4 separate regions of the Homo sapiens genome follow, and all the other regions are linked to region 1. The links are contacts of gene promoters, found by promoter capture Hi-C in blood cells and fetal thymus (Javierre and others, 2016). All regions are on one chromosome and are shown on one strand. Each heading gives the region's core, a stretch centred on a gene start or on the middle of the fragment in contact. The rest is flanking DNA. Distances are from core to core; before and after follow the strand shown. Region 1 holds the start of SLC19A2 (solute carrier family 19 member 2). Region 2 has its middle 37 kb from the start of TBX19. Region 3 has its middle 33 kb from the start of MIR557. Region 4 overlaps LOC125312414 (a long non-coding RNA gene).

What was found. Contacts are between HindIII fragments. The CHiCAGO score rates a contact against its expected background, and 5 or more counts as called.
Region 2: a contact is called between a fragment that was not itself captured here and the fragment with the promoter of SLC19A2 in region 1, in 1 of 17 cell types (naive CD8 T cells). The highest score is 8.1, in naive CD8 T cells.
Region 3: a contact is called between a fragment that was not itself captured here and the fragment with the promoter of SLC19A2 in region 1, in 3 of 17 cell types (total B cells, total CD8 T cells and naive CD8 T cells). The highest score is 8.0, in total B cells.
Region 4: a contact is called between a fragment that was not itself captured here and the fragment with the promoter of SLC19A2 in region 1, in 1 of 17 cell types (fetal thymus). The highest score is 5.9, in fetal thymus.

Annotation. Positions count from the first base shown.
Region 1 is chr1:169,484,448-169,487,903 of GRCh38, reverse strand. It overlaps SLC19A2 (solute carrier family 19 member 2), which reads left to right and starts at 1,960. Exons shown (of 6, transcript NM_006996.3): 1 at 1,960-2,341. The coding sequence starts at 2,138. RefSeq lists enhancers at 1,526-1,595, 903-1,823, 1,606-1,855, 1,659-1,953, 2,496-2,555 and a silencer at 2,136-2,315. The HindIII fragment of the contact is 10,248 bases long and covers 1-3,456 here.
Region 2 is chr1:168,316,073-168,319,528 of GRCh38, reverse strand. No RefSeq gene overlaps it. Among named protein-coding and RNA genes, the nearest start is that of TBX19, 37 kb to the right of the region's middle. The HindIII fragment of the contact is 2,663 bases long and covers 258-2,920 here.
Region 3 is chr1:168,341,101-168,344,556 of GRCh38, reverse strand. No RefSeq gene overlaps it. Among named protein-coding and RNA genes, the nearest start is that of MIR557, 33 kb to the left of the region's middle. The HindIII fragment of the contact is 847 bases long and covers 1,441-2,287 here.
Region 4 is chr1:168,468,148-168,471,603 of GRCh38, reverse strand. The region is part of intron 3 of LOC125312414 (a long non-coding RNA gene); the gene reads left to right. All of the region lies in intron 4 of LOC101928565 (a long non-coding RNA gene), which reads left to right. Among named protein-coding and RNA genes, the nearest start is that of XCL2, 74 kb to the left of the region's middle. The HindIII fragment of the contact is 2,294 bases long and covers 574-2,867 here.

The sequences.
Region 1 (3,456 bases), core at 711-3,210:
CCTGGGTTCAAGTGGCTCTCCTGCCTCTGCCTCCCAAGTAGCTGGGACTACAGGCGTGCATGCCACTATGCCCGGCTAATTTTTGCATTTTTAGTAGAGACGTGTTTTCGCCATGTTGGCCTGGCTGGTCTGAGACTCCTGACCTCAAGTGATCCGCCCGTCTCGGCCTCCCAAAGTGCTGGGATTACAGGAGTGAGCCACCGTGACCAGCCAGAAAGCTATTTTTAATAAGTAGGCTTCTCTTTCCGAGGCCTCTCTGGCTTGCTTTCTCTTTCTTTCTTCTCTTCTACTAAAGCACTGAATGTAAATACAAAGCGATTGTCAAGAAGACCACCTGTTTTCTCTCTGTAGTCCTGATAAGAAGGGTTGGAGTTTAGGGGACTAGACAATTGAATAATATCGATTAGCAGTCCTCAAACATTTTGGTCTTAGGACCCTTGTTAGAGGTGCCCCAAAAATCTGTTGGGTTTTGTGGGTTATACTTATTGAAAATTGCCATATGGTAATAAATTAAACCTGGAAAGTCTTACAAACACAAGAATATACAAGCACGTATTCTCTCATCCTATAAAGCGATGATGTCATCAGACATTATATAGCCTCTGGAGTGGAAAAGGAAATAAAGACTTAGCATGGTTATGAAAATAGATTTGAGCTCGTGGAACCTCTGAAAGGGTCCCAAGGACCCCCAGGGCTTCCTCGACCACACTTTGAGACTCATTGAGATATGTAAATACTGCCAGTTGTATTTCTTCACAGATTAATCAACTCACAGATTTGGGTGCATTCATTTGTGCAGTCTTAGAAACAAATCTTTCCCTTTACCAGTATCTTATTCCATCTGGTAGACTCATTTCTGCTGCTGATGCTTGAAAAAAGTGTCATTTGCTACCACAGGAGGAAAACGGTGCTAGATGGATCATAACATACAGAAAAGCAAGATAGTTCCAAAATGTTTCCAAGAGCTTCTGGCAGGATCTGTCATTCTACAAATACTGCACAGGAAAAATTGCTTTAAATGCTGCATCTTTGCAGTAGAAAGATTAGGATTGAGCCAGGCTGTGAGTCAGGCAGAAAAAGGCACACAGAGGGGGATGAAAGAAAGCACTGGAGAGTCTTGTCATGCTTTGCCCTTGAAAACTATGCCAAGACCTCTTTTGTGTTTTTAAATGAAGAAATCCATCATGTTTTGTGATTGCTGTAATGACTCAGGATCTTCCACCTTCCTTTTAACTATAAACCGTAGCGTAGTTAGGTGTTTGTTTTCTTTGTATCATGCTTGCAAAAAGTGACGAAATAAAGTTAAAACCCTTTAACTGGGACTCCATTACGGTTCTGCTGTTCAGTGACCAGCTTGTTCATTATTCTCACAATATTATCTACTTTCTTCATTTCAGTCTGTCTCTTAGATCCTGGGCTTCTGATGTCTTTCCATGGCGGATGAATACAATTTAAAACACGAAAGCTGCTGGAGGAAAGGTTTAACGTTCCCCCTCCCCAAGGTGAAATCTTTGCCTGGCCTCAGTCACTAAGTCTCTCAGGAGCGGAAACTGAATGGACATTCCGGAGACGGTGAATAAGAATGATAAACGGTGGTTGGGGAGAACAGCGCGTTTCTTCCAGCGGAGGACTAGGCCCACAGGACGCATTCCCAACAGATGAGCGGAGCCGACAGCAAGTGTGCCACGAACGCCAGCTGGCCGCCTCACTAGAGAGAGCTCCGCCGCAAGCCGCCGCTTTTGGAGTGGAGTTCCACATGTCCTCCGCGCTTGAGCCCTGGGACGTCAGAGGCCTGGCGTGCTGCCACCGCCCCAGTTCACGTCGTGTGACCCACGACCAATGGAAGAGCAGGCAAGTATTCCCGGCGTCCGCTGTGATTGGTTCCCGGAGTGGAGGCGGTGGCAGAGGGTGGGCCTTAGGACGGGTCTCCCTTAAACTGGGCGATCAGGCAGCGACCCTAGAGGCGTCTGTAGGGTAAAGCTGGGGGTTCTGTAGCCGGAGGCGGCGGCGAGTCCAGAACGTCCTGGCCTTACAGGGAGAAGGCGTCACTCGCGGTTACAAGTGCCTGACCCTCACTCCAGTTGGCGGAGGAGGAGAAGGAAGGGGCCGGGCCGGGTCCCCTCCCCTCGCGCCCCGGATGGATGTGCCCGGCCCGGTGTCTCGGCGGGCGGCGGCGGCGGCGGCCACTGTGCTCCTGCGGACCGCTCGGGTCCGTCGCGAATGCTGGTTCTTGCCGACCGCGCTGCTCTGCGCCTACGGCTTCTTCGCCAGCCTCAGGCCGTCCGAGCCCTTCCTGACCCCGTACCTGCTGGGGCCGGACAAGAACCTGACCGAGAGGGAGGTACGCGCGGCGGACGCGGGGCGCGGGAAGGGCGGGCGACCGGCCTGCGGGTGGGCAGCGGAGGAAGAGAGGACCGAGAAAAGCGCTCGAGCCATTCTCGGCAGAGATTTCTGATTTTGCCAGTTGGAGGTCGGCTTCGTGCTCTTCTTTGTGTTCATGATTTTCTGTTTTCTTCGGCTCTGTAGGACGAGTCTCCTGCGAAGGGCTCAGAACACGCGTCCAGAGGCCCCGTGCCTTGTGCGTCAGGCAGTATGCTGATCGTGTTGTAATGTGGCTTAGCGTGACTGCCCAGACTGGTCCAGCAGTTCCTGCTGGGGGCGAGGGGGCAATATTTTGACAAAGAAGTGAAAACAGCAAAGTGTACTTTGGACACGGCTTAGTAAATATTCATTGACTGAAAGTAGGCAACCACTGCTTTTCTGAAAGGATCTTCCCTCTACCTCCTTCACCTGCTTCCTGTCCATACCTTACTTTGTTTGCATTTGGCAGAATGGGTGGGCTTAATCAAGTAAGGACAGGACAGAAGTACAGAACATCTTAATTTGTCTTGATTTTTAATTGGGTGAGGTTGTGTCCAAGGATATCCTGCCCCTCTCTACCTTAAGACCAACCTCCAGGGATAAAGGCAGATGGTGAAACATAATTGACTTTTAATTATAGTGTTTCTTGTATTGCGAATTGTTGCTTCACAGATGTTAGTTTTGCTTCTCAGATACAAGGTGATGTCTTTGAAGGCCTTCTGTGATGTTCAGGGTAATTGAGAGCACGTAGTCCATCATCAAGAGTTTCTTGCTGATTGATTTTTTCCCTAGATGAGGGCTTACAAATAAAGTACTTCAGAAGCGCATAGTGTACTTTAGAAATGTGCTGACCTATTTAAGTGCATGGTCAAAACCAGCACTTGATTTTTGCAGAAGAAAGACAATATATAAACTGAGAAAGAAATTAAACCCAAAGTACTTCCACAAAACCGAAATAAAGCCGATTCAACACCCTCTTCCTTGAATACAACAAAGGGTGAAAGCTGAGGTCTCATGTTCTTTTTCCTACTATCAGTCAAGGGGCCACTTGAGAGCTTTTTCTTTTTTCCTACACCTGTTCCTTCCACCCTGCCT
Region 2 (3,456 bases), core at 340-2,839, 1.2 Mb after region 1:
AAAAGATGTGGCTGTATTTATCAATGGAATATTACTTGGCAGAAAAAGGAATGCAGTACTGATATACGCCACAGCATCAAGGATCCTCTAAGTGAAAGAAGCTAGTCACAAAAGACCATACATCACATGACTCCAGCCAAATGAAGTGTCCAGAATGGGAAATCTATAGAGAAAGAAAGGAGATAAGTGGCTGCCTAGGGGAGGGGGTGGAGGTGAGTAGGAAGGAAGTGGGCAGTGACTATTAATGGGTATAAGCTTTCTTTGTAGGGTGACAAAAATGTTCTAAAATTAGATTATGGTTATGGGCACACAACTCTGTAAATATACTAGAAAAGTCCAATGAATTTCCCCTTTAAATAGGCTGTGTAAATTATATATCAATAAAGCTATTAAAAATAATAATCTGTCTGGGCCCGGCGGTTCATGCCTGTAATCGCAGCAATTTGGGAGGCCGAGGCGCGTGGATCACCAGAGGTCAGGAGTTTGAGACCAGCCTGACCAACATGGTGAAACCCTATCTCTACAAAAATACAAAAAAATTAGCCAAGCATGACGGTGAGCGCCTGTAATCCCACCTACTCGGGAGGCTGAGGCAGGAGAATTGCTTGAACCCAGCAGGCAGAGGTTGCAGCGAGCCAAGATCGTGCCGCTGCACTCCAGCCTAGGCAACAGAGCAAGACTCTGTCTCAAACAAACAAATAACAACAAAAAAAAACTTTTCTAAAGAAATACGATCTTATAAAGACACAACTTTGACAAAAATATACAAAGAACTTTTTATCAAACCAAACATGTTTCCCCACCTAAAATTTCCAAGTACTGCTAAGGATTATTTCTAAAAATTCTGGATTAATACCTGTGGGGTGCCTACCATGTACCTACCAGGCACATGTGCAAGGTGTTGGAGGTACAGCAATGGAAGACAGTTTTTGTCCTCAAGTATAACCAAGACAGTCATCCACCCTGTAATAACACAATTAGCCATTTCTCTAATTTAAATTTCTAACTCTAGTAACCATCAACACCCACCTGCTCAAGTTAACAGAAATCCATGGAGTATCCTCAATCTCTCATGACTTCCTGTCATTACAACCCTGGACATTTTCCCCCAACATATCCCACTTAGCAACTTTAGCCCAGGCCCCAAGTGTTAACGCTTGAGGATCCACTCTTTTAACCCACACACCAGCCATTTTTCTCAAGGCATGGCAGTGTCCAGGTGGCTGCATAAGTCCACATTGGGTCCAGGAGCATCTCTTACCTCCAGTTGCTCTTGTGTGGAAACCAGTCATCCATTCAAACTACTCCTCCCATTGTGGTAATATAATTTTGTCTTAGAGGAAATATACTTTTCCTGCTGCCCAACCTTGGTCTGGGCTAACCCAAGCCATCCAATATATTTCACTACATTTTAACCACAAATAGAAAAGGTCTTTCCTTCTAAGAGATTACTACGTTCCCACCTAAAATATGTCTGATTCCTCCTCAGCAACCTCCAAGCTCCAAGCCCTCCCCATCTAATAAGTATGTAGGAGGGATACCACAGCTCCATCCTCCAGAACCAGCCCTGGTTAACCCAAAACTCCTTGTTAACACTCCTCCCCAAACTCCACCCCCTAAAAAGTGTTCTTTCAGAACAAAGTGAATCTACCCCAAAGGTTTATTGACTTATTCTCTAGGGACAGGGAACTCATCACTAAATAGACATACTTGTGCATACACACACACACACACACACACATAAACACACACAGTTACTCCTACAAAGTGCTCCAAATAAGAGTGGTCATGACCAGAAAATGTGAATTTCCGATGTTTCCATGTTGAGAATGAGAGATTGACCAACTTCTCACTCCCAACTAGTTGAATTCTAAGTCCTCACCTGGGCCTGACCAGTTGCTCTGGCCTCCGGGTTTCCCAGACGCCAGTTTTATTTCAGTAGCCTAGGTACTTTGGCAGGAAGGGGGCTGGAGAACTGAAACGATTGGCTGGAGATGAAATCACAGGGACACCTAAAACTGTCTTCGTGTGGCTGAGTCAGTTCCTGGAAGAGGGCCTCAGGACCAGGTGGCATCTCTTGTTTTGTCACAATGCTAAATCTGAAAGATATCTCAAAGACCAGTTCTTTAGGTTTCACAATAGTGATGTTAGCTATAGGAGTAGATGGGGGAGTTATAAATCATGTGACCCCCAGTTTTGTGATTCTGGGGCAGTAAACAACTTATAGAAAAACAAACTAAGCGATGGCAGGTCATGGTTTAACTATGCCTATTCTACAGCAAAGTCCAAGGCCCTACCACAATTTTAGCCTTGTCTTATGAACGCAGCTTCAGTCTACAAAAAAAAAAAGAAATTTAGCCTGTGAGGTTAGAAGCAAGATGGAGTCAGTCACGTTAGATTTCTCTCATTACTTATTCCAAAAAGGTAGTTTCACCAAGAGTTTGGGGGGGTTCTATTCCTAGAAGGTTGGGGGGTTGGACAGACTACCCCATAGATGTGTCTATAATGATGATGATGGAAAAGTTTTGGTGTCTTCAGACCACAGAGGCTGTTCCTTTATATCTTTTGTGGCACCACATATCCCTACCTTAACCTCTGTTCCAGGATGCCCGTACTCTCTCTGTTCACCAACCTGGCCAGTAGCCAACAAGTGGCTCAAGGATGCCCGTACTCTCTCTGTTCACCAACCTGGCCAGTAGCCAACAAGTGGCTCAATAAAGTGGGAATGGGTGGAGAAAATAAAAAGGAAGGAGTTGAAAGAAGGGCCACTTGAATGCCCCAGTTGCCATCCCCTACTTTGGCTGACCCACAATTTCCGTAAAACAGAATTCATATTCTTCACAAATGTGACATTTTAACTTGCTGATATTCACTCAAATCTATTCTAGTCTTGAAGAAAGTGGTGAAGACCTACCAAGCTTCGAATATCCTTTATTGAGTTTTTTTCTTAATAACTTAGGTGATGAAAACATTCCTCCCCTAATTTGACCACCATCCAGTTCTGGGGGGTGTCCACCAAGTGACACGAAGGGAATCAGCAGTTTCCCATAAGCATCTAGCTAAGCATGGTGGACAGAGGTGGTTGGTAATGAGGCTGGCTCATCCAGGGAAGGGAGGGCTGGTGAGGTCACACAGACTCAAATAAAGGCCCCACAGTAGGGGACACTTTCCAATAGGCCAGGCTTCAGGGAGAGTTAGAATCTCTACCATCTGGCTAAAAGTATTGCATAACTCTTCTATTCAGGTGGGATTTCAGTTTCTCTTAAATTTCATGAAATAGTCCAGAAAACCTGAAAGGCACCATTTTTGTTTTATAGTGAGTTGAGTAGAGAAGATACATGAGCAAGGAAATGGTATACAAAACTCCAAAGTTTGTCTAACACATTACAGAAGCTAATCTGTCACTTACTAAACTGACTTATGTAACTAGTGTTGTTTCTTCTGATCAGAAATTAG
Region 3 (3,456 bases), core at 615-3,114, 1.1 Mb after region 1:
TTAACTGAATCTTACTCTTTAGTCAAAGAAGGTTTCCTGAAGAAGGAGGGATGTCAGGCAATTTTTAAATACCAGAAAGTTGAGCCTAAGAAGCACTTATGAGGGGTAAGTAGTCCATTGACCCAGGACAGCAAGTAGATGTGTCTCATTCCATCACCCAGGCTACTAAGAGAAGAAGAGGGGTATGAGAAGACATTGAGTACATAGACCAAGTTCCCTGTTTCACTGTGAGTCACATGAAGACCCTGAAACGTGAGGATGTCAACTCAGAGCCCACAGATGGCAAAATCAGGATTCTTATCCTCTACATACTTACAAATCTCTACTACCCTTGGAATTCAGGGCTGCTTAGATGACAGACAGAAAAAGACAACGTATCTCATGGGGGCTCTCACGCTTGCTCTGATTCTGGCTTCCTCTCCTTGGCCTTTTGTATCATCTCCTGGGGGTCTCTAGAGCTACCTAAGTAGCTAACAAGCAAGCTGAAAAGCTCATCTTCAGCAAGATCACTTTTGCAAGCGTAACAGTCTCAGATGAAATAGATTGGCTTCTTAAAGGACTTTGGCAGCACTCAAAAAAAAATCCTTTTGAAGCAGCAGTGCATGTGAGAGGGAGTGGGGAGCAGGGATGGTGGGGTGGGCTTACGACATTCTAACAACCAGAGGTCTCATGATACCTTGGCTTTTCCTAGAGAGACAGGACTCAGGTGTTCTGGGCCCTAATGATCCACTCCTGTTTTCACTGCCTCCTCTGTCCCCCACTTGTCCTTGTCCTTCCTCTAGGAGGCAGCAATACAACAGGGCTGTGTTACACAGTGGGCTCGATCATCCACTCTCCAAAACGCTCAAAGAACACAGATGGACTCTTCCTTCTGAGTAAATCCTCCTCAATTAGAAAGCTCCTCGGCTGGCCCTATCTTAACATCTGCCTGAGGTCCATATACTGTCTACGAGATGCTCATTAGTACTGCAGGCCCTAGAGTCATCGGTAGACCTTGGACACCAGTAAAACATGTAGAACCATCTCCTCCAGAGCCAACAACTTATTATGAAACCTTCACATTTTCACTGCCAAGCAGGTAGCAGGGGGGCCTCAGAAAACCACAAGCTTTGTCTCTTTTCATACACCTCTAATATCGAGGTGTCAGGTCAGACAACTCTACCAAAACTGCAGTATAAAATCCTTTATACTGTAAGCAAATATATTTATTTCAATGGACCACTTAACCCTCATAAGTGCATCTTAGGCTCAGCTTTCTGGTATTTAAAAAATTGCCTGACACCCCTCCTTCTTCAGGAAACCTTCTTCGACTAAAGAATAAGATTCAGTTAATAATGAATCCCCTACATTTATATACCAAAATTTATTTTTTTGCTTACAGAACCAAATTTATTTCTTTGCACCAGGACCAAAATTGCATTATACCCTCCTCAAGAAGCTTCGTAAATGATTATTTGGTTTTGAACTTTGTTTTTGGTGTTTTGCCTGTCCTACTCAGAAGGCAGCTTTTATCCTGACGACGTTTCAGTTTTAGCTATGGCTCTCTCTAAAGCTGCTAGTTTTGTATGGGTAGCTCCTTCCTTAGAAGGAAAATCTGCAGTATCTTTTTTAAGTTCTGCGTCAGAAGACGGCCTGGACGGAGGGTGGGGTGACTGATGAGTTGGAGCTTTGCTGCCACCTGGTGTCCGACCGAGGAGGATGACGCAGTTCCCTAGATAAAGACTTGCAAGCTCTAGAGCCTCATCTGCTTTGCCGTGGGCGTGGGTGATTGTGCAGAGTTCTGGGTCACGCGCTTGGCTCTGATTTAAGGAGGTCAACCACACATACCCACGGGCAGAAAAACGGAGGCTGGCGCCTGCCGTCCCACCCCATCACCAGGACGAAAGGGGTGGGACCAGCACTCCCCATTTCCACAACCTTTCCCATGGCTTTTGGGTGACTTTTCCTGCGCTCCTCCCCCAATACGATATTCTCCCCTAAGGAATAAATGGAGAGACAGAGGGGGAAGCAGGAAAATGTAAGCAATGTGACTTTCTCTGGGGTCCTCATTCCCCTGCAGAGAGCTCTGAGGACTAAAACCAAGACTTGAAGGAGAAAAAGAGGTTTTAATATCCAAGCTCTGAAATCTCCAGGTTATGCAAACCATCAAAGTGATGTGAATGGCCTCCCGTAAGTAGGGATGGAGAGGACCCTGTGAACCAACTAGAAATAAACACTTAGGAAAAATAGCTTCAGCTTATTTAACTAAAGTTACGTCTGATGGCTGTTTGTGATTCCTCTGCAAGCTTGAACCTCTAATAGCACCTGCTATGTATTACGTATGCCCAAAGTGGGGACATTCATACAAGACTTCTTCACACTTTTAATAATGATAATGCTGTGAACTTTAGTTAATTAGAAGGATCGGGGACTGGGCAGCCTGATTAATTCAATTTTCTAGTTAACTAAGAGTTAATGTGGAAGTTATCCCTCTTTTCTAGGATTTTTGGTAGTTACAGCTCTCAGTGCTCATCTGTGTCTGTGGAATATTTCTGTCAATGTGAAGACTCTGACACATGCTTATCAAATTTTAGAAGATATAGGCTTGAAAGGTTTGGTAATGCGTTACATGGCAGAAGTCATTCAAAAGTAATTTAACGGGCTTATATTATGAGTTAAGACTAAAGTCCTGGAAATATATATTTTTTTAAGTTAACCATACAAATACAGGATGTTGAAACTTGGCTTAATAGCAGTTCATGTGGGAAGCCCCAGGCATTTTAGTAACCCAATGTGGCTGCCAAAAATGACAAAGCAGTCTTAGGCAGTGCTGAAAGAGAAAGGCAGTGTTGGGAGCAGGAAAGATGGGAGCTCTACTGAATATGCCATGGTGGGGTCATGTCTACAGATCTCCATTCTATTCTGCCTGCCACAGCAGAAAAGGAAAGGGAACTGATGAAAGTTTTAGAAATCACGGCATATGAGGAAAATTCAAAGCTGCTGACAATGTTTGCAGTAGAAGAATGGAAGGCCTAGGGAGAAACTGAAGAGCTATATTCAAACATGTGAAGGGTTGTCATGGGAAAAGAGGACAAGGCTTAGAGCTGTTAAAAGAAAAACTTTAGACAAAATAAATTTAACAGAGTTTATTTGTCCAAAGAACAACTCATGAGTTGGGCAGCACTCAGAACCAGAAGCAGTTCAGAAGACTGCTGCAGCAGCTTGGACAGCAAGTTTATGGGCTAAATGCAGAAGGAAGGCAAAGAAAACGTATTTCAATATCGACTAGAGTCTTTACCAGTCAGCAACCACAAACTAACTTCTGTTGGTGGTTTCTGACTGATAAAGGCGCTAGTTTCATTTCACTGTTTTATGCTGGGATTTGGTTTGCTTAGTGGGAACTTAAAGCCCAGGAGCCATTCCAGCCTAATGACCTCCCAATTTATATATATATTTTTTAATTATTATACATGACCT
Region 4 (3,456 bases), core at 471-2,970, 1.0 Mb after region 1:
ACACACACATACATATATACACACACACATATATACCTATATACATATATATACATATGTATATATGCGTGTGTGTGTGTGTGTGTATATATATGAGTATATATATATATGTAGGGTCCAAGTTCTGGAGAAAATTTAGGGCTTGAGAGTTGTACCTGCCAGTTCTCTCTGAAAATGGAGCATGAGTTAAAGCTTTCATAAAAGATCCCTGGAGGAGGAATGCCTCAAGCACTGTTACTAATTCACTGGGCTCTGACTCATCAGTGGGATTTCCAACTAGTTCTAGTTTTGCTCTGCCTTAGTGGTTAGACCCTGGAACTCCATGAGACCAGAAGAAAAGGGAAAAACAATACTCCCAGAGAAAAAGAAAGCTAGAGCCATCCTCCTTATGGTGGGAAGGAAAACTCATTCATCAGAGATCACTCAGTGGTGAAATGATATGCATAATTTACTCCAAAGCAGGACAAAATACGGAGTCTGAAGTCAATTATGTTGTGAAATTAATTGGAAAGCTTTAAGTCAGCCATGCAAAGCTTAAATTTTATTCTCATCATGTCCCTGTTGTTTTAAGCTTCCCAAGCCAGTCTTATGTTTGTAATTGACTCAGTTCTGTATGAAAGCTGCTTAGAGCCTTGAAATGAGGCTTGGTTCCTGAGTCATTTCACCTTGAATGCACTTGGGATTTTTTTGGGGGGGTGGCTAAAACACATGAAAATTTTATCAACATGCGCTGCTAAAGAAAATCATCATTTATTCCAAGGGGGAATAAATGGTGATTTAAATAATTTATTTCCCAAATATTCACATTTAGTGCTTTTACCGATCATTGCCTTTTCTCATATGTCCCCTTTGCTTCCTTTTTGAAGGAAGGGACATTATTCTACTTAAGTCTAGCACATTACCTGGCACATGAAAGATATTCCACAAATGTTTGCTGAAATGGGTAAAAATATAGATAACAATTCTTATCGTGGAGGAAATGGGACATAAGGGGGTATCAGTGTTAGAAAAGACATTTTAACTACAGCACAGGTGGCAAGTAATAGGAATTCAATATTACTCTAAACCATGGTGACCATTATTATTAGGATGTGAATCAAAAATAAGTAAATTATTAGGGCTGTTTGCTCTGCCTGTTTTCTCTTCTGCTGCAGAGCTTTTATTAAATGACAGTTGGTACCTACAGTGGAAGGTATGCAGGATTAAGAGAAAGAAAGAAAGCTCTAGTTTCTTTGATTTCCCTCTCAGAACAAAAGTGTGCTAGGGAAAGATATTGGATTGTCTGGTTAAAATGAAGTGCAGTGTTTGCTTGTGGGTATTCATTTGCTAAGTTATCCTTGTTTTCTATTACAAATTAAAAACATTACAAAGTGCTTGCCTAACTAGGAAATATTTGTGCCACCAAGTTTCTCAGATTAGAGACTCAGAATACTGAACTGAAGAAATAGCCCATATAAAATAATATGCAACATTTATTGACCATCTAGCAAATGTGCCAGGCAATGTTCTAAGTACTTCACATGTATTAATTTATTTAAACTTCACAACAACCCAGCGAGGTAGGTGCTGCTATTTCCCCCTACTTTGCAGATGAGGAAACTAAGGAACAGAGCAATTAAGTAGCTTGTCCAGGCAGTCTGTTCCAAAGCCTGCTCTGAACCATTATACAGCACTGCCTCTCCACAAGCAAGATGCCAAGATAGGGTTCAGATGAGGCCCAGAGTGACTCATGCTCGCCACGGTTGTCACTGCAGATTAAGCCAGAGCAAGGCCACCGCTTCCTCCTCACCCTTCCCAGCCAAAAGTAACATCTGGGGATTGGCTTCCTGCCGGATCCGCAGGCACTTTTAATGCTTGTCTGTCTTGGGATTCTGTAAGCCCCTAAGTCTCCTTTTGAATCAATTTGTATTACATGACTTATTACTATCTTTACTATCTTGAAAAGGAAGCTCCACAGTTTAATAACAAACCAGGACAGAAATGACTTCTTAAAACACTGGCTCTCCTGCCATTTAGTGTCCCAGAAAGTTTGTTCCAAGTCCCATCAATTGCAGGGGTTTCTCTTCTCAACAAAATGAGACTTTCTGGTGACAACTTATTACAAAAGAGATGCCCTGCCTCCACCCAGCTTGAACGCTCACACTAATCATATAAAAGGAGGAATATACGTTTGGGCCAACTTGGTTTTACAGAGGAAAATGGAAATACTCTTTTCTCTAGTTTATTTGACTTGCCCAAGGCTAATCCAACATAAAGCAGGAACTGAAGGTCATGGTCATGAATCTGATTTTTATTACACATGTGGCACTATTAGAATTCTTTGCTCTAACAAACAGCTTTCCATCTTCCCAGAAAAAAAAACATATAAAGTATTAATTTACTTATTACATATAAAATTATTTGTGTCTGTACTTGTAATCCCTCAACCATTTCATTGTAATAGGTTGGTCAATAATCAAGGTCAACCAGGTCATCTGTTACTCTATAGCCACCAACATAGCCTCTCCCTGACCCCCCAGCTTCTACTTGCAGCTCAAAGCATTGCTGATGGGCAGGTGTCCCTGTCAGTACAGGGTCAAGTCAGCACTATTTTCTCCTTCCCATCCCTTCTCATAAATTTCTAGCTATACCTCATCTCTTCTTTCTCACTTCTGTTCCTGAGAGGATCAAAGTAAAATGATAGCTTGGGAAATTCCTGACCTATAAAGCTGAGAAGCTGAGGAGAGACCAGACCTAAGCCCAGAGAGGAGCTGGGACCATATTCTTTGGCACACATTCTACTGAAGTATCAAGCATGGTAATGGACAGTCCGCAGTTCTACTTCAACCTCTAATTTTTATATTTATTCACAAAATATGTATTAAGCTTCTATTACTATATGACAGGTGCTGTGCCAGGTGCTAATAGTTTTTTTGTTTTGTTTCGTTTTGAATTGTTTTGTTTTGTTTTTTGGTGGTGAGAAGACTGGTTAGACATTTCCTTATCTCCTCTCCCAGCCAAGTTAACCCTCCTCTTTCTGCCTGAAAGATGCCATGATCACTGTCCAGTCTGAAAGAAGATCTGTGATTAAATGTTTCGAAAGGTAGCTCTGCACTATGAGAATCTTGGACCTGAAATGGAATAGGAAATGTCTTGGCCAGGTTCATGGACACAATTCTAGGACATGACTCTGGTTCATGACTTAATTCAGTATGTCTGATTCGTAGACTCTTCCTGCTTCAGAAAGATGATCTCGTGTGCTTTTCTTAACATTTTGATCCTTAGCCAGTAGGTAAGATCAGATAATCTCCTTCATGCTTCTTTTCAGGATATGCTATTCTTTCAAATTTAGCCAAGACAGAGGATTCCATTCCAGACATTCTTTCCATGAATGGCATTCAGTTAGGAATGTTGTTATGCTTCCATCTTTTTTCACTTAATAAAGGCTTCAGCCAATCTAAGTTACAAATAAGCCTG